5 separate regions of the Homo sapiens genome follow, and regions 1, 2, 3 and 4 are each linked to region 5. Evidence: promoter capture Hi-C in 16 types of primary human blood cells and fetal thymus (Javierre and others, 2016). All regions are on one chromosome and are shown on one strand. The core of a region is centred on a gene start or on the middle of the fragment in contact, and the rest is flanking DNA. Distances in the headings are between cores, read along the strand shown. Region 1 overlaps MXI1 (MAX interactor 1, dimerization protein). Region 2 has its middle 49 kb from the start of SMNDC1. Region 3 overlaps ADD3 (adducin 3). Region 4 overlaps ADD3 (adducin 3). Region 5 holds the start of BBIP1 (BBSome interacting protein 1).

The links. The method cuts DNA at HindIII sites, captures the fragments that hold promoters and counts their contacts. A CHiCAGO score of 5 or more calls a contact.
Region 1: a fragment that was not itself captured here is called in contact with the fragment with the promoter of BBIP1 in region 5 in 3 of 17 cell types (neutrophils, fetal thymus and monocytes); the score reaches 8.4 in neutrophils.
Region 2: a contact is called between a fragment that was not itself captured here and the fragment with the promoter of BBIP1 in region 5, in 1 of 17 cell types (fetal thymus). The highest score is 6.6, in fetal thymus.
Region 3: a fragment that was not itself captured here is called in contact with the fragment with the promoter of BBIP1 in region 5 in 1 of 17 cell types (monocytes); the score reaches 6.1 in monocytes.
Region 4: a fragment that was not itself captured here is called in contact with the fragment with the promoter of BBIP1 in region 5 in 2 of 17 cell types (fetal thymus and neutrophils); the score reaches 6.8 in fetal thymus.

Annotation. Positions count from the first base shown.
Region 1 is chr10:110,229,704-110,233,180 of GRCh38, reverse strand. All of the region lies in intron 2 of MXI1 (MAX interactor 1, dimerization protein), which reads right to left. Among named protein-coding and RNA genes, the nearest start is that of MXI1, 24 kb to the right of the region's middle. The HindIII fragment of the contact is 4,532 bases long and covers 1-3,477 here.
Region 2 is chr10:110,352,288-110,355,616 of GRCh38, reverse strand. No RefSeq gene overlaps it. Among named protein-coding and RNA genes, the nearest start is that of SMNDC1, 49 kb to the right of the region's middle. RefSeq lists enhancers at 100-149, 980-1,069. The HindIII fragment of the contact is 3,956 bases long and covers 1-3,329 here.
Region 3 is chr10:110,067,865-110,071,153 of GRCh38, reverse strand. All of the region lies in intron 1 of ADD3 (adducin 3), which reads right to left. Among named protein-coding and RNA genes, the nearest start is that of ADD3-AS1, 61 kb to the right of the region's middle. The HindIII fragment of the contact is 3,073 bases long and covers 357-3,289 here.
Region 4 is chr10:110,124,315-110,127,532 of GRCh38, reverse strand. ADD3 (adducin 3) reads right to left here. Exons shown (of 15, transcript NM_016824.5): 11 at 1,588-1,707; 12 at 1,030-1,116. Among named protein-coding and RNA genes, the nearest start is that of MXI1, 82 kb to the left of the region's middle. The HindIII fragment of the contact is 543 bases long and covers 1,197-1,739 here.
Region 5 is chr10:110,917,169-110,920,507 of GRCh38, reverse strand. BBIP1 (BBSome interacting protein 1) reads left to right here and starts at 1,328. Exons shown (of 4, transcript NM_001195305.3): 1 at 1,328-1,387; 2 at 2,295-2,387. The coding sequence starts at 2,351. It overlaps SHOC2 (SHOC2 leucine rich repeat scaffold protein), which reads right to left and starts at 904. Exons shown (of 9, transcript NM_007373.4): 1 at 851-904. RefSeq lists silencers at 445-534, 545-984, 1,835-1,994 and enhancers at 1,205-1,254, 1,275-1,474, 1,164-1,703. The HindIII fragment of the contact is 2,602 bases long and covers 1-2,166 here.

The DNA of each region.
Region 1 (3,477 bases), core at 15-2,514, 690 kb after region 5:
CTTAGAAAGTGGAACTGAGATACTGCTTTTATGAGATTCTTTAGTATCCATAGGACACTAAAGAGAAGAAATATATCAACTTGAAATTAAAGCATAAATTGGCTATTTACTACTTCCCAGATTACCTTAAAACAATGCAATTACTATGTGTGTGTCACAGGCTCATATGAATATTTATTGCCAATATCTGAAAGACTTCTGTTTCTTTCAATATGCAAGTTTGGTATTATTTTATTTTCATGACACAGGATGACACTGAATGTTCTTCAAAATTAAGTGTAGCATTCTGTAGCCTGCTTGTTTAAAAGAATTGACAGTTTAGAGATTTTTATTCTTTAAATACTACATGCTGTTTTTCCAAATGTATCATTAACATCCCTTGGAACACAAAGTAATCAGAGTTTGCCAAAACAGGGGTTTTATCACTCTTCCTTCCAGTCTAATATGGTACTCAGCACAAAAAAGAAATTCAATTTAAGACAGTCTGCTTGGAGTTTGAAAACCTTCCATTCTTTAAGAAACACATACTATTTACGGGGCACTGTGATAAGTACTAGGGATAAATGTTTAAGCAGAAGAGACTCAATCCCTGCCCGCCTCGCAGGGTTTTTAATCCAGTGAATAGGACACGAATTTAAGAAACAACTGGATAACTGTATTTCTACAAATGTGATGAACACTATGAAGGAAAAATAGGGGTGCCATGAAGTATGTGAAGACCTGATCTACTACGGCAGATGAGGAAACATTCCTGAGGAACTTATGATTGAGCTGAAGAAGAGTGTTATTCAACAGAGATAACAAAGGGGGAGGGAAAATGATTCCCTGCAGGGAACAGAAAGTATGCAAAGATCTTGAGGTAGAAGAAAACGCGTACTGAAGGAATCAAAAGAAGGCTGGCCAATGTAATTCATAAGAACTGGCCAAGTGCGGTGGGTCACACCTGTAATCCCAGCACTTTGGGAGGCCAAGCCGGGCGGTTCATGAGGTCAGGAGATTGAGACCATCCTGGCTAACACAGTGAAACCCTGTCTCTACTAAAAATACAAAAAATTAGCCGGGCATGGTGGCAGGCACCTGTAGTCCTAGCTACTCGGGAGGCTGAGGCAGGAGAATGGCGTGAACCCAGAAGGCAGAGCTTGCAGCGAGCTGAGATCGCGCCACTGCACTCCAGCCTGGGCAACAGAACCAGACAAAAAAAAAAACTGTAGTTGCAGGGACACCAGGTAGGAAGTTACTGCAGTCGTCCAAGTAAGAGATGATGGTAGCTGAGATTAGGAGGATAGTAATGAAGGTAACAGGAAAGAAGGCCGACTGAAGAGATATTTAGGAAGAAATCAGTGTTACACTGCAGTCATGGCTTATTTAGTAGAGTTTTAAGGATGACAGACCTTGAGATTTTTCACCTGTGGTACCAAATAGTAAAGAAGCTGGAATTTGAACTTATCTGATGCTCCCCAAAAAGCCAGATAGCTATTGCAGCCACATTCTCTAACAGCAGTAACATCTTAGCAATGTTGATTTTTGGAAGTGTGCCAGAAGGCTGTGACCAAGACCACAGTAAAATCAAGCATTTATTTTAATTATATATTATAGGTGCCACTTCCAACTATCAGAAGGATCCCAAATGATAAAATTACTGGTATTTGCAAGGAACATATTTGTAATATCACATTATATCATTTATTTTCTCTCCTTTTTACTTCTTTGAAAATAAGATTTTAAGGAATGGGGGAAAGGGGAATAGGAATTTATAATATTAGGAGTTAACTACTTTCAGCATAAATTTATAAAGTTACTTTTTTGAGGGGGGGGGGGTGGATTATCACTCTGTTGCCCAGGCTGGAATGCAGTGATGCAATCTCAGCTCACTGCAACCTCCGCCTCCCAAGTTCCAGCAATTATCCTGTCTCAGCCTCCCAAGTAGCAGAGATTACAGGCACACACTACCACACCTGGCTAATTTCTGTATTTTTAGTAGAGACAGGGTTTCATCATGTTGGCCAGGCTGGTCTCGAACTCCTGACCTCAGGCAATCCACCTACCTCAGCCTCCCAAAGTGCTGGAATTACAGGCGTGAGCCACTGCACCCTGCCTAAAGTAACATTTTATCAGGCATATCATATAATACCTGAGAATATCAGGGGTAAAATAGTCAATCACCATTATATCTTAAAGATGCTACGATGTCAGAGAAACAAATGTCATTTTATAACATACATCAGTGTTCAAGATGTATAGTAATAAAATAACAGCTACTTCCACACTAGTAGCTTTTTGATCAGGAAAAAATAAGACATATATACTTATGAAGTCCATTCCTTTCCTTGTTTCAGATGATAAATACATGGAAATTTCTGTAAGTCTTCTAACTTTCTGCTTTATGTAACCAGCATAATAAAATCTCATTAAAATCCAATAGTAAACTTAAAATTAAGAAGAAGCCTACAGTGTCCTCTTTCAAATGGACCAACACTATTGTCCAAATACCCCAGTATTGGAATTTCTACCTCAGCTCTCCTTACTTCCATGAAGCAGGCATTTTAAATAAGTGGCAAAGGAGAAATAATTTCTAGTGTTTCATTTTAACATACTAGTTCTCTCTCATAAGCCCCAGCCCAAAACCCACACATTGGTGGATCTTGAGATAATATATTCTAAAATATATTTTTCTCTCTCTCTCTCTTTCTTGCTACTTATATTCCCATAAAAAAAGTATCTTCTCCTGTTTTAGGTGGTCTAATGTACACATATTCTCCTTTGGGCACTATCAGAACAATATGGCATGCTTGCAGTTTTACAAATTTTCCGACATGCTATGCTAAAACACAGTAATTAGCACTGTGGTCCCACACATAATATTAGAATCCTAACAGAGACACTAGCATGAAAGAGAAACATCACTTAGCCCAAACCCCAAGCTGAGCAAAGCGTAAGTCAACAGATGACTAAGAGTTTCTTATTAATGACCGGTAACATAATTGATAAAACTTAGGAATGTGCATCTTATTTATGCCTCTATAATCCTTGAGTTCCTAAAAATGTCACATCTGCAATGATGGGAGACATACTAAATTACTAATATAGTAACCAATCTCTAAAACTGTCAATAAATCAGAGTCATAGAAGTTCAGGAGAAGGAGGGACCTTGGTGAGACTCTAATGCATCTTATTTTACAGATGAATACAGTAAGGGATGGGAAATGTACTGAAATTATATACCTAATTTCTAGAAAATAGGAAAGGCTTAAATACTTGCAGCACGACAGAACCCAGGTCTAGTTTCCTATGTGTACTCTTCCTATGTCTCCAAGTTGAAAAAAAAAAGTTTTTTAATCTATGTGGATTGAAAGACACATAAATTCCTGAATAGGTCTTAATTCTTGATAGCTTAAACACTGAAACCGTAAGGGCAAGCAAATGTACATTTTTTAAAATGCTGTATATCATACTACATATTTTCATCTCAAATACACC
Region 2 (3,329 bases), core at 280-2,779, 570 kb after region 5:
TTCTTATGTCTTTTCGTCTATCCTGGACACATATTTTTGCCTAGTGCAGCTCAGGGAGGGCAGGATGATGGCTTTGAAATACAAACACAGACAGGAAAAAAAGACTCCCACAACATGTGAGTATAAATGCAATAAGAAACATAAAGGAGAGAGAGAGAAAGCAAGAGAAGTTGTAAGCAAATAATATGCAAAGCTCCTGAGAAAGAACTTGGGCTGCTCTGTTTGGTAGCTGGAGACCTGGGGCCTGGGGAAATCCCAGAAAAAGTCAAATCTGATTGGGCCCTAGCTGAGGCCCTGTCCTCTCGCTTCGCTCTCTCCCTTCCTACCCACCTTGGTTTGGGGTCCGCTTGGTGCCCCAAGCTGTGTGCTTTGCAGGTGTGACTGCTTCTTCCTGCACAGCTTCTCCCTCCCCCAGCCTCAGCATCCCCCCCGCCCCGCGACCCCAAAGCTGCACAGCTGTCTGGATGCTTCCTCTGAGCCCCAACAAACTTAGATCTCCTGGTACCACCCCCCCCCCCTTGGCACCTGGCTCTTCTTTTTCATGGCATATAGAATCACTTACAGTTTTGTATTTATTTGTTTCAGGTCCATGTGCTTCTGTGAGACCTTAAGCTCTGTGTGAGCAGGGCCTAGGTCCTTGGTGCCTTTGGCCTGGCATGTGGAGGCTGTCTCCCATCCCTTGCTGATTTAAACAAATGGTGGCATCTGGAGGTTTGGATCAGGGCATAGGAATAAATGCCCGCTGGGCCACTCATTCCTGAAATCCTGTCCAGGCCTGAGTGCAACTGGGAGCTTGCTTAAGCCTTTAGCCTGTAGGCACAAACGGTAGATGAGCAGGTGGTCAGTGCAGTGAATGGGCCCAGATCCTCAGAGCGGAGCCACCAGCCAAGCAGGCGCAGACCTCCAGGGCTCCTCTGTGTATCTTTAAAGTGGGTTCTGGATGCTCCCTCCTTTTCTCAAGAGCCTGTCTCTGAGTTGTGAGGCTCCCTCAAATTCCCAGTTGGCTGGCTCACCAGCGGTCATGCCAGGGGCTGTCAGCCAAGGTCGTGAGTAGATGGCTGAGATGGGCATCCTCTGAGGGCTGCACACATCAGTAATGAGGAAGAAGCTCTGAAACAGCGCCCTCTCCTGTCCGCTGGACTCGCCTCCAGATAATGGAGCTGTCTTGAGGGAACAGCCTGTCGTTCATACTCCGTATTTTCCCTTTCATTCCATTTAGTGTAGGGTAGAGTGTATTCTTTTTCTTTTTTTCAACTTGACACCCATGACTCCGTGACAGATCGCCATCTGTCATGTGTGTGTGACTACCTCCCTACTAAGGGCCAGGGAGCCCTGATCAAGTATTCTTTCTTCTTCCTCTGTTTCTTCTCAGTGTTGGGTTGCTGGGGTGGGGAGGGGAAGGATTTATGTGATAAAGAAGCCTGAGGTACAACCTCAGTTGTACCTCAGTTTCTCTCCTCCCAGGCTTGCTGCCCGGGGAGCAGGGGCTGTAGAAGGAGAGCACTGTTACCAACTGTAGCCAAATTCACCTTAACAGTTTCTCACCCCGCCCTTGTCTCATCCACCCCCCCAGCAACTAGGAGCCAGATCTGACCACAGATACCCAGGGATGGGCGGGGGGGCCAGGGCCAGGTGAGTTCATCCCAGCAGGTGGGTGCCTGCTCCAGCCTGCCCCTTGCTTCCTCTGAAACACACTGCAGCAGAGCAGCCTCCTTCCCTCTCCCAACCTTAGATGAAATAATCAGTATGAAATTTTCTGTCTCCTGACAAGATGCCACATACTTAATTTTCTTGCACCAATCACCTCTGCAGGAAGATAGGAAATAAACTATGATAGGATAATTACACAGCTGAATACAACTGACTGGTGCTCTTGGGGGTGAGGTTGGGGGAGGGGGAGGGTACACCCAGCATTCTCATCCTCTCTAGTTAATCACGATGTGGCTTTCAGCAGAGCCACAGCCTCAGTAGAAGCGAGACGTCCTCATGGCTAAGTGACGAGTCTCTCAGCGTCATGACAGTGCCCAGCAGCCTCCCTCCCTGCCTTACTCAACGCTGACTATGCCTTAGATCACTGCATCGTGGCTTCAGCACTTTGTCTATGTTCCGGAAAAGCCTTTGCTCTGTCATAGCTTCCCTGACCTCCCAAGGCCAGTGCATCAAAACAGTCACCATCCTGAGAATAACGTTTCTGCTCCCAGGTGAGCGGCAGGCATCACACATCAGGGTGTCTGGGGCTGTCAGGAAAATGGTAAGGAAATATGCACGTGGAAAGAAACAGCTGGCACTTTTTACAGAATCTAGCACTGGGTGTTTATTGCGGCAGAGCTCCATACATTCTTGTTGAATGAATTGATGAATACCCAGGGTTCCTAAGGATATGAGCTGCTAAACTGGGGGGACTCTGCACACAGTCTCTGGCATGGATTGCCCAGCATCGAACCTTGGCTCTGCCCCTTGCTAGCTGTGTGAGCTCCAGCATACTTCTTGATCTCTCTGTGTGCCTACTTCCTCACCTCTAAAATGGGGATGATAATAATAATAATTAATAATTAAGCATTGTTATGTGTAAAGCACTTAAAATACTTCCTGGCACACAATGAGCACCGTGTTAAGTGTTTGCTATTGTTAAGACTACAAAAATAGTCACTCCAAGGAATTGAATGTTACTTTTAACCAGGAGCTGTGAATTTCCTTATCTGGTAGGCATTCACCCCTCCCACCCCCACAAGCTCCTGCCCCACGCATGACACCATCTACTGCAGGGATTTGCAGGTTTTACTGTAAAGGGTCAAATAATAAATATTTTAGACTTTGCAGATCACAGTTTCTATCCCAGCCACTCAACTCTGCAGCCATAGTGTGACAACATGTAAATGAGTGAGCAAGGCTATGTTCTAAGAAACCTTTTTTAATACAAAAGCAGGAGGTGGGTCAGATTTAATCCACTTTGTTAATTTCTGACCTATTGCAACTCATTTTACAAAACAACTGCTCAATTCCTACCTCTTCTAAGAGCCTACCTACTTGTACTTTCCCTCCCTGGACTTCAAAATCACTGGGCTTAGAGGGAGCTTAGTACCATGGAAAGAATATGCAAGAAATGTGGATTAAGCTCTGGCCCTGCTGCATGACTTTGAACAAAGCACTTACGATCTCTGGAGCCTCAGTTTACCCATCTGCAAAATAGATTTAAGATTCTTTTGTCTTACTTACCTAATAAGGCAGTTTGAACGTCCAATAGAGAAATGCATACGGATGTGACTTGCAAACTTGAAAGCACTACCCAGTGGAAGTACATCTGCACGGTGTCCCCAGTGCCCAGCCCA
Region 3 (3,289 bases), core at 644-3,143, 850 kb after region 5:
CAAATACTTTACCCAGTAAAAGCCATTCCCCCAATTTTTTTTTAATCTTGGGAAATTTAAGTATCAATAATGTTTCTAAAAATTATCCTCCTAAAACAAATTCAAGCACTTAGCTTCAAACACTGCTGTTGGATAGGTAGGAGGCAAAGCTGGCTCCCCACCCCCCCCCCCCAAAAACAACAAAAAACTAAAAACAAACAAAAAAAAAAACCCACATGATGTGTTTGTAGGCCTACTAACACTCTCAGCTTCTCTGAGATCTAGCTGTAGAACTTGGGCTGCCTGTATATGACAAGAGCCACATCCCAGCCTCTAAAATTAATGCTTTAAGAGTCCTCAGATATGATAAGTAAGCTTTTTCCAAGACAGGGCGAGAGACAAGTTTGGTTATCTGCACCCCTACCCCCCAATCTTTATCCTTCAACCCCTGCATAACTCTGCCTGCCTTCAAGCATCTTAATGTGTTTTTCCACTCAATGGTTGATAGATTTGCTATATACTCAGTGGCATGATAGAAGGTGTAACGAAAACAAAAACAAAACTAGTCTGTAAATGTATTTCTTCTGTACATATTAGAGGGATTTCAGTTTACAGAATCATACATACTGCTCCCAAACATAACTAAAGTGTAGAGTATCAATTTATTCTCTGCAACCTACAGCAGTACTGATCACATAACCTACTTTGATTTTAGATTTTTTAAATTTATATTTAAATTCTGAGTTGGTAAATCAATTCACCATATATTTCTTTTCTACTTTTTTCTTAAATACATTTATTCTACTAACTATTCATTCCCCTACTATTACATGCTACAAGTGAACAGGTATCATGGTAAAAAATGTAAGAAATGAACGAGACATTGTCTCTGACCCTAAAATACTAGCAATTTAGTGGGTTGGGGCAGGGGAGAGGGAGAGACAATTGTAGCACACTCTGTTATTATAATAGATATACTACAGATATACTACAGATATATTCAGAGAAAGGAGCCTATTTGAAAGGTTACAGGGCAAGTTACCCTGGAGCTTGGTCTAAAAGGAATGAGTATATATGTATGGGGTGAAGAGGAAAAAGATTAAAAAAAGACAATATATGTTTTAATAAACTTTTAATACATGGCTTTACTTTAAATAAAAGTATCACAGATTACAACTAATACAAAAGGGAAATCAAAATTGCCACTGGGTAACAGTTTACTGTGGTGTGTATAATTTAAGCTACAGGAAGCCTACAATCTATTAGCGAACCACAGTTTTGTGTCATGTGCTTTTGCTTTCACTCTAATCTGACTTGCATGCTAAGAAAAGAAACTCAAAAGCCATTTATATTCTTTTTTAAACAATGCTTGTTCTTACACTGCATTAACCAATGACTTAGAAATAATTAAGACCAATTATCTTGAAAGCCAGTCAAATTGTAATCTGACACCACATCACCATGAAAAGAGGCATAAGAATGTTCTAGGTTAATACTAAGGTCAGTAAACAAATTTCATGGTCAAGGTGGCACTACATTATACTACACCCTATGAGCTCAAATCCTTAAAAGCATCAAGTATAAGCAAGGTAGATTTAATGGGAGAGGGTGGGAAGGGGAAAAAAAAAACACAACTAATAAGCATTATGTTTTGTAAGGCACTTAAGTTCTAAGGTTCACTGGCCCAGAAAGCTGTTGATATATGAGAAAGGTTACTTTTGTGGATTGAAAAATGGGCTAAGGTGATTAAATATACATTTAAAGCTGAAAGGGATGATATGTTAAATTGCTGAGACTGGGTCACTCATTTGATCAACTTACTATTGATGAGAAAATGCCACAGGGTTAATGTTTAAGATGCTTCCACACTGAAGTACAAATAAATAACAAATCTTCCATTTTTATGAAGAAGAATATGCAGATCATTTACAGCATATACAATCATGACAACCTGAGAGGAAAAATCCTTTAAAATGGAAAAATTAAGGTAGGATTATTTATGTAAATTATTTAAAGATTCCTTGCCAGGTTGTCTTAAATAGTAATCGCACCTGCATTTAACCATGTTATACTGAGATACAGGCAATTTTTTTTTTTTAAGACAGGGTCCCACTCTATTGCCCAGGCTGGGTGCAGCGGCATGATCATGGCTCACTGCAGCCACAACCTCCCCGGGCTCAAATAATCCTCCCAGCTCAGCCTCCCAAGTAGCTGGGACCACAGGCTCACATGACCACGCCCAGCTAATTTTTCTATTTTTTGCAGAGACGAGGTCTCACCACGTTGCCCAGGCTGATCTCAAACTCCTGCGCTCAAGTGATCCAGCTCCCTCAGCCTCCCAAAGTGCTGGGATTACAGGAATAAGCCACCATGACCAGCCACTAGCCAACTTTTTAGGAGCATATACTTTATATAAAGCAAGGGCTGTAAGTACTTTATACTAATGAATTCACACCTACAACATCTAAACTTTGACAAAAAAGAAAAAATCCTTTTGCCTTTCAAAACGTTCACTTCAGGAGTTTAATCCTGGAGTAGGAAATCCTCAATGAATTCTTTGGACAGTGTATATGTACAGCTGTCCCTAGGTATCCATCAGGGATTAGTTCTAGGACCTCCCATGGCCACCAAAATCCAGGATGCTCAAGTCTCTGATATAAAATGAAGTGGTATCTGCATAAAACTTTGTACTTCCTCCTGAATACTTTGAATCATCTCTAGATTACTTATGATGCCTAATACAATGTAAATGCTATGTAAGTAGTTATTCTGTATTTTTACTCTAATATTTTCAATCTGTGGTTGGTTGAATCTGAGAATGCGAAACCCTCAGAAGTGGAGGGCCAACTGTAACTTCCTCAGAAGATTCAGAGAAAGGAGGGGGGGAGGTGGAAAAGCTCATGACAATTGCTTCTGAACTTCTGAGAAGCAAAGTGACAGGAGCAGTACAAAAACTCGGTGGAAGCGGGAAAAGGAGGAGCTAAGAAACCAGATGAAGAGACAATATAGGGAGCCAAGGGTGACATGAGATAAGGGGATCAAGTAACTGTGGCAGCCAAAGACGCTGGGCCACACCCATAGAGAGCTATGTGGCTTATTTCAAGGGGGTGGAACACTGAGCAAGTGAACAATTTTGGTTTTGTTTAACTGAAAGGTTGCACAATCCTGTAAATGGGGGAAGGAAAGGGGGTGTTTTTCCAGTATAGAGAAAGTTAGGATAAATAGTTATCCCTTTAAAAAATATTAAACAAAGAGAAGTAATAACTAAATCATTCAAAGGAATATGAAAAAAACAAAGCAAATCAAAGCA
Region 4 (3,218 bases), core at 219-2,718, 790 kb after region 5:
TGATTCTCCTGCCTCAGCCTCCTGAGTAGCTGGGACTACAGGTGCACGCCACCACGCACAGCTAATTTTTGTATTTTCAGTAGAGATGGGGTTTCACCATGTTGGCCAGGATGGTCTTGATCTCTTGACCTCGTGATCTGCCCGCCTCGGCCTCCCAAAGTGCTGGGATTACAGGCGTGAGCCACTGCACCCAGCCGGGACTTTATAATTCTTTTAAAAAGTTCGGGAAGAACTAAGCCAATGTACCCCAAATAATAAGCCAATGAAAAAAAGGCAAGGTGAGAGTAGGGAGGGGTGACTTATGTAAGAAAGGAAATACTACCTGGCTTAGCAGCAAACATGTAGTAATATAAATAACGAAAGCTGATCTAACAGAAAAAAACAAAAAACAAAAAACAAAAACTGTGATGTATCCTTACTGGGAGAATGGGGAGAGGGAAAAAGGGAAGCACTGTATAAACAGGCTAAATCCCCATCTTTCAAAAATATTTCATTAATTCTAAGATGAACTTTTTCCATCTCTGAAATTGGGAACAATTATAATTGGCAGTGTTTTTTCTCTTTTAGTGACATATAAAACAATGGTACTTCTTATAACGGATAACACAGATTTGATGAAAAATAGTCAAGGTCTAAAACTGATAGACCAAGAAAAAGCAGAAGATGCTCTTTAGAAACATCAAAGGAGGACGAGGAGCAGTGGTTTATACCTGTAATCCCAATACTTCAGGAGGTCAAGGCTGGAGGATCACCTGAGATCAGGTGTTCACGACTATCCTGGGCAACAGAGTGAGACCTCATCTCAACTAACTAACCAGAAACACCAAAGTAAACATTAGAAGCAATGAAAAGAACAGAAAGTTGCTGCACCTGGAAACTGGGAATTGTGGGTGACATTTTAAATCTTGTGAGTTGACTTTTTAACTTGTGCTTATATTAACCTTAGTAAAAATAAATATTCATATTTAAAAATCAATGAAATTAATGTGGTAAATAAAAAACAAAGATCATACTACTTCATAAACTTACAGAAGGTGGCTTATCCACAACAATTCCAGCAAGCAACTGAGATTGTGGTCCTGCTGTTTTCAAGTCATATCGATTTTGTTCCCGAATCTGAATTGAAAAACAATTCAATATAAAGTTCTTGAGGGCAACTATGCAGATGACCTTTGCTTTATCTTTTCATAAAAGCTTACTACTTGACATTTCCAGAGTGAGAGTCTCTTCAATTCCCACCTCCATAAAGACCTCTTTTACCATCCTAACAACTCATATTAGTCTCCTCTGCTCTTTATGGCAAGTTATTTCCTTTCGTCTTAGGTTGTTAGAGAACTGCATTTTCCCCCTAATAGCAGGGTTCTCTAACGCAGAAAAATGTTCAATACATCTTCCCCATGTAGCCTGTTCACCAATTACTAGCACAGAGCTGGAGGCATTCAATATAAGCTAAAATTATACTGAATTAAATTCCAAATTCTTCTGTATTCAAACTTCTAAGTTTGGCATTAACCAGATTCAACCACTGGTGATTTAAACATAAAGCAATTAAAATGTCTCCCCTGGCTATAGAAGACCATGTCTTACCTTATTTCTCTTTTCTAGTACCTCATTCGGGTTTGTGTTTAAAGGAACAAACTGATTTGGATCTTCAATTTTGATAGGTGTTCCACCACTAACTTTAGATGAGTCTTCTGCTTTCATCCACTAAAGAATCAAAAATTTTCTAAAATGAAGCTTTGTGTTAAGAAAATATTAGTAGATTGTTAGATAACTGCTTATAGTCTCAAGAGGGGCATTGCCAATGTTTAAATAATTTCACTAAGCAGTATCTTAGTGGTGAATTAGTTTCATCTCATACTAGTTAGAAAAGGCTCAAAATCAACATTTACTTAAAAAATAAATGCCATTACGATTCACATAAATATTCAATTATACTGCTAATTAAACTTTCTCCTTGTGTCAAGTGAAAATATGATGCTGAAACTACTTCAAGCACAGAGAGCATGATCTCACATTCACTCACATTCAGTGTTTTGTCTTCTGCACTGAAGACAGCAGTCAGATGAAGATGGCAAAGGAGTAATCAAAAAAAAAAAAAACTTAAGAAATATCTTAAGATTTTAGTTTATCAGACTTCACTTTTTATTTTTGGCTGACAGAAAAGGCCAAGCCCTAATCGGCATTTTATAATGGGGATAATCTGGTATATAATAGCAAAATAGAACCACGGGGTTGGAAGGAGCTTACATAATTCTTCTCATTTACCCCATATTATAATCCTTAAAGAAAGCGAATCTCGATCAAGATTAATGATGGCTGACCATCAATCTCTGTAAACAAAATGAATTCTGAGAAACCAATGAGTTTAATTATGTTCTTTTACTGGGAGGCAAGAAATCTTATAGACTACAGAAAAGACATTTTGATGCCTAGGTATTTTCATATTGAATGCCATTAGTTTATATAAGATGAACTAATTCTGAATATCTAGAACTGTGGTGTCCAATCTTTTGACTTCCCTGGGCCACATTGGAAGAACTGTCTTGGGCCACATATAAAATACACCAACACTAACGATAGCTGATTAGTTTAACAAAATCACAAAAAATTCTCATAATGTTTTAATAAAGTTTACAAATTTGTGTTGAGCTGCATCCAAAGCCATCCTGGGCCATGGACTGGACAAGACTGACCTAGAGAATGTTTGGTGGTATGCACTCCAAAACCAAACCAAACCAAATCTAATGCAAAATTCTGAAAAAGATAAAATAACCCATTTCTCTACCTACAAGATCTTGCCTAAGGGTAGCTATGTGCAGTGATTCATGCAGCTTTGGTACAATTAGGAGTTGATAACTTTTACAGTTTTAATTCACTGGTGAATTAAACTACTGGTGTAGTTTAATAGAAACTACAAAGCAGTATCATGTAGTGGACAAGAACTGGGCTCAAGAGTCAGACTGTCTTCATGCAAATCCCGAGTTTACCATTAAAACATGATTAATTAACCCTTCTTGCCTTGGTTTTCTCATCTATAAAATAGAAAAACAGCATCATTCATATTAGGAGAGTTAAATGAGAAAATTCGTGTATGGCACTTAGAAGAGTGTCTTGCACAAAGTTAAAGCCAGATAAGTGACAGTAATATTTTTAATATTATTTTACTTTCCAAATATTTTCAATATAGAACATTCAATTCTTGAGTAACTAGGCAA
Region 5 (3,339 bases), core at 79-2,578:
GCAAGTTAATGCTTTGGAGTCATTACTCTTCCACCTAGGCATGGGGGGAGGGGGATGGTACAAAAACAATGGATATTGAGGTGCTGGGGGAAAAATCGTCTTGCCCCAAAGCCTCTTGTGTTATGAGCCTGGGGAAGTCGGGGAAGAGTGAGACTACTTTTCCTCTCTCCCTAAAAGCTGTGCTATCACGGGGAGAGGTTGCCATCGGGCATGTTCTACGAGGCGGTCTCGAAGGGCTACAACTCGCTTCGCTAGGCAACACACCCAGAGCCGATCCAGCACTCTTCACTCAAGGGTTTTTAGGGAGAGGAGAACGGGAGAGCAAGGTGGACTCCAGGGAGGGGGCGAGAAGAGACCCCACCCTGTATGACCGCCGCTGCGCCCGGGCCCTCGCCAACGATTTACACGACTCGGGGCGCCCTGCGGACTGGGCCCGGGGGCCCAGGGAGCCGAGAGGAGAGAGACTGTCCGCCGGGGGCCCCCGGCCCGCGCCCTCGCGCCGGCTCGCCGTCGCCCAGGCGCTGTCCGGGCCGCCCGCCGCCGCCGCCGCAGGCCCGGCCCCGGCCGCTGTCACACCCGACCGCCTTCCTCTCCGCGCCGGGCTGCAGGCTCCCACGCGAGCCGGCTCCAAGGGCCCCGCACTCCCGGAGACAGCAACCAGGAAAGCGGCGGCGGCGGCGCCTCCCAGGGCCCCGGCCCCTCGGGCCTCGCCCCGGCGCTGCCGGCTCGCGCCTGTCAGGGCGCACGGGGCCTCCCCCTACCGACAGCCAGCCCGACTGCCCGACGGACAGGAAGGCAGGCAGGAAGAACCGACCAACAGACACCCTCCGCCTCATCGGCCCCGAGTTACCGTCAGGAGCCCCGACTCCGCCATCCTCCTCGCTCGCCCTCCTTCCTCCTCTTCCTCCTCCTCCTAAGAAGCGACGCTGCCCAACCGCCGCCCCCCGCCCGCCCCTCCCCCACTCGCCCCGCCCCGCCCGCCCCGCCACTACTCTCGCTCCAGCCTCCCCGCCCCACCCCTCTGCCGTGGGCCCGTCACTCGCTAGGCAAGAAAAATGGGCGGAACCGGGGCAAGAGAAGCTGCCCAATCAGAGACGGGCAGTGCCGCCAGCTTCTCTCTCTCCGCCCTTGTCCTTTCCTCAGTTCCTCTACGCCGTCTCCCGCCCACTGGGCGCCTCTGGCTAGCCGGGCTACAGAGTAAGCCTCCAGCAGGGTAGAGTGACAACTCCCCGATCGGAAGTTACTGTTGAAGCTAAGGCGGCCATAACTGATAATGGCAAAAGGAGATTCCTGGCTTCCTGTTTCCAGGGTGACGTAGATTTTTTTCCTTCGCCAGTCTCACCGTTACCCGGGGCAACAGCTGAGCCGTCTGGGAAGGGATGCATCTGTAAGTAAGCCCAAAGAGGTACCGTGGGTGACCACACATCCCATGTTAGACAAGTTAATTCATACTCCGGATTACACGTCCAGTTTCCTGGCCCTTATTTTACTGAGACGTCTGGTCACTTACGGAGATGGACAACAGTTTAGGGCTCCGAAATTCCCTCTCCTGCCCGGAAGTTGCATTTGGCACTTCCGAATTGGGTCATGGCGGAAGGGTGTTAATAGCCTGGCCGCCCGTGCCCCAGGGAATGCTTATTTTTGACCTTAGTTGCAAAGTGAGGTGAGTCCGTGGACCCCAACCAGTGGGCCGGACCCGGGCCGGACGGTCCCTGTGGGACAGAGCGCTGAAATGGCGAGCGGGGCTCAGGGCCGCTTCCGTTGGAAGGCGGTTTTTTTCCGGGCTGGCCTGGCGGCGGCCCGCCCCCGTGAGGCTCCCTGTGGGGTGAGGCCGCTCTACAGGCCGCCCTAACCCAGCCAGAGGCAGCCCGGCCGGGAGGACCCCAGCGGGGAATGGGCGGGGACCTCGGGGCGGAGCTCCTAACTCCGGCAAAACGGAGCTCTTGACCACGCCTCCGCAAGTTCCTATTAAGTACTTTCACTCCTTGGCCTTTGGAGGGAGGAGAATTCGGGAACTTCAGAAAATCATTTTCCACCTTCACCTATAAAAGGAAAAGATGAGCCCCTACCACCAGGGCAGGACCTCAATCTTTTTCCCCTGCCACCTGCCTTCCCATTCTGATTTTTCCCCCCTTTCCGCGTCTCTCCTTTGAGTCTTTGTAAGCTTTGACTGCGGTTCTGGTGGTGGGATTCCTGCAGGTCTACAGTTTCTTAAACAACGTGTTGAAGATTTTTGAAAATACTGTATTGCTTTTATATGGCCCTTTACAAAGTTATCATACATTATCTTGTAGTTTCTTCTGTATGCTTGAGTCAAGAACTCTAAGTCATCTTGGTAATACCGGGTTGGATGCTTAAAGCTGCAGCAAAAAGACCAGAACTTTCAGGTAAAATTGAAAATGGTTAATATCCAGCCAGTCAACAATACAGATGCAAACCTACCTTCTCGACTTAATTTCTGCTTCCTTAGTACTTACACGCCAGCCAAAATGAACTACTCTTGTTTCTTTGCTGTTAATTACTGAAATCTGTTGTAGCAGTCACCTTTTGTGATTCTGTATCTGATTCTGTTACCCGTGGAGATGTGTTTCCAGATTCTTCCCAGCAGGAAGTAATTTCCTCTGAGTTTAGCATTTTTTGTACATCTTTTATGACAATCAGTATGTTATATATATATAATAGCGCTTATGTTTTTAGCTTCACTACCATGTCTGCACCTAAATAGAATGGTTTGTATCAGATTCGTCTTCCCGTCATTTTCACCATGCACATGATATTATTTTGGTAAATACTTACTGAAAGTTTGAATATATCGGGTGTCTCTTGGATGCCCAAGACACTTCCAGCCAAGTTTTAGAGACCTTCAATTTATCAGAAATTCAGCTGAGCGCCTGCTACTCAATCTTTGTTTTACGTTTCCCCTGTGAAGTCTTTCTGACATGATTTTTTTCCCCAGTGTTTTATTATGAAAGTGTTCATATATTTAAAAGCTGAAAGAAATAATTTAATGAATATTCATGTACCCATCATCTATATGCAGCAGTTAACATTTTGCCATTTTTTTTCATTCCTCCCCACTTTTTCATTGTCATAAAAAGTTGCAGACACTTATTGTTAGGCAAGACACCCTTAAGATTTCCAGCATGAATTTCCTAAGAATTTTGAAGTTCTCCAGCAAAACACAATATCATTATTTCAGCTGTTTTGTAACTTTTAAAATCTAGGCCAAGTGCTAATTTTCCTAATTTACCCAGGAATATCTTTTATACCTTCTCCTTCCCAATCCTGCAAAAAAAAAAAAAAAAAAAAAAAATCAGGATCCAGTCAAAATTTTTCTTT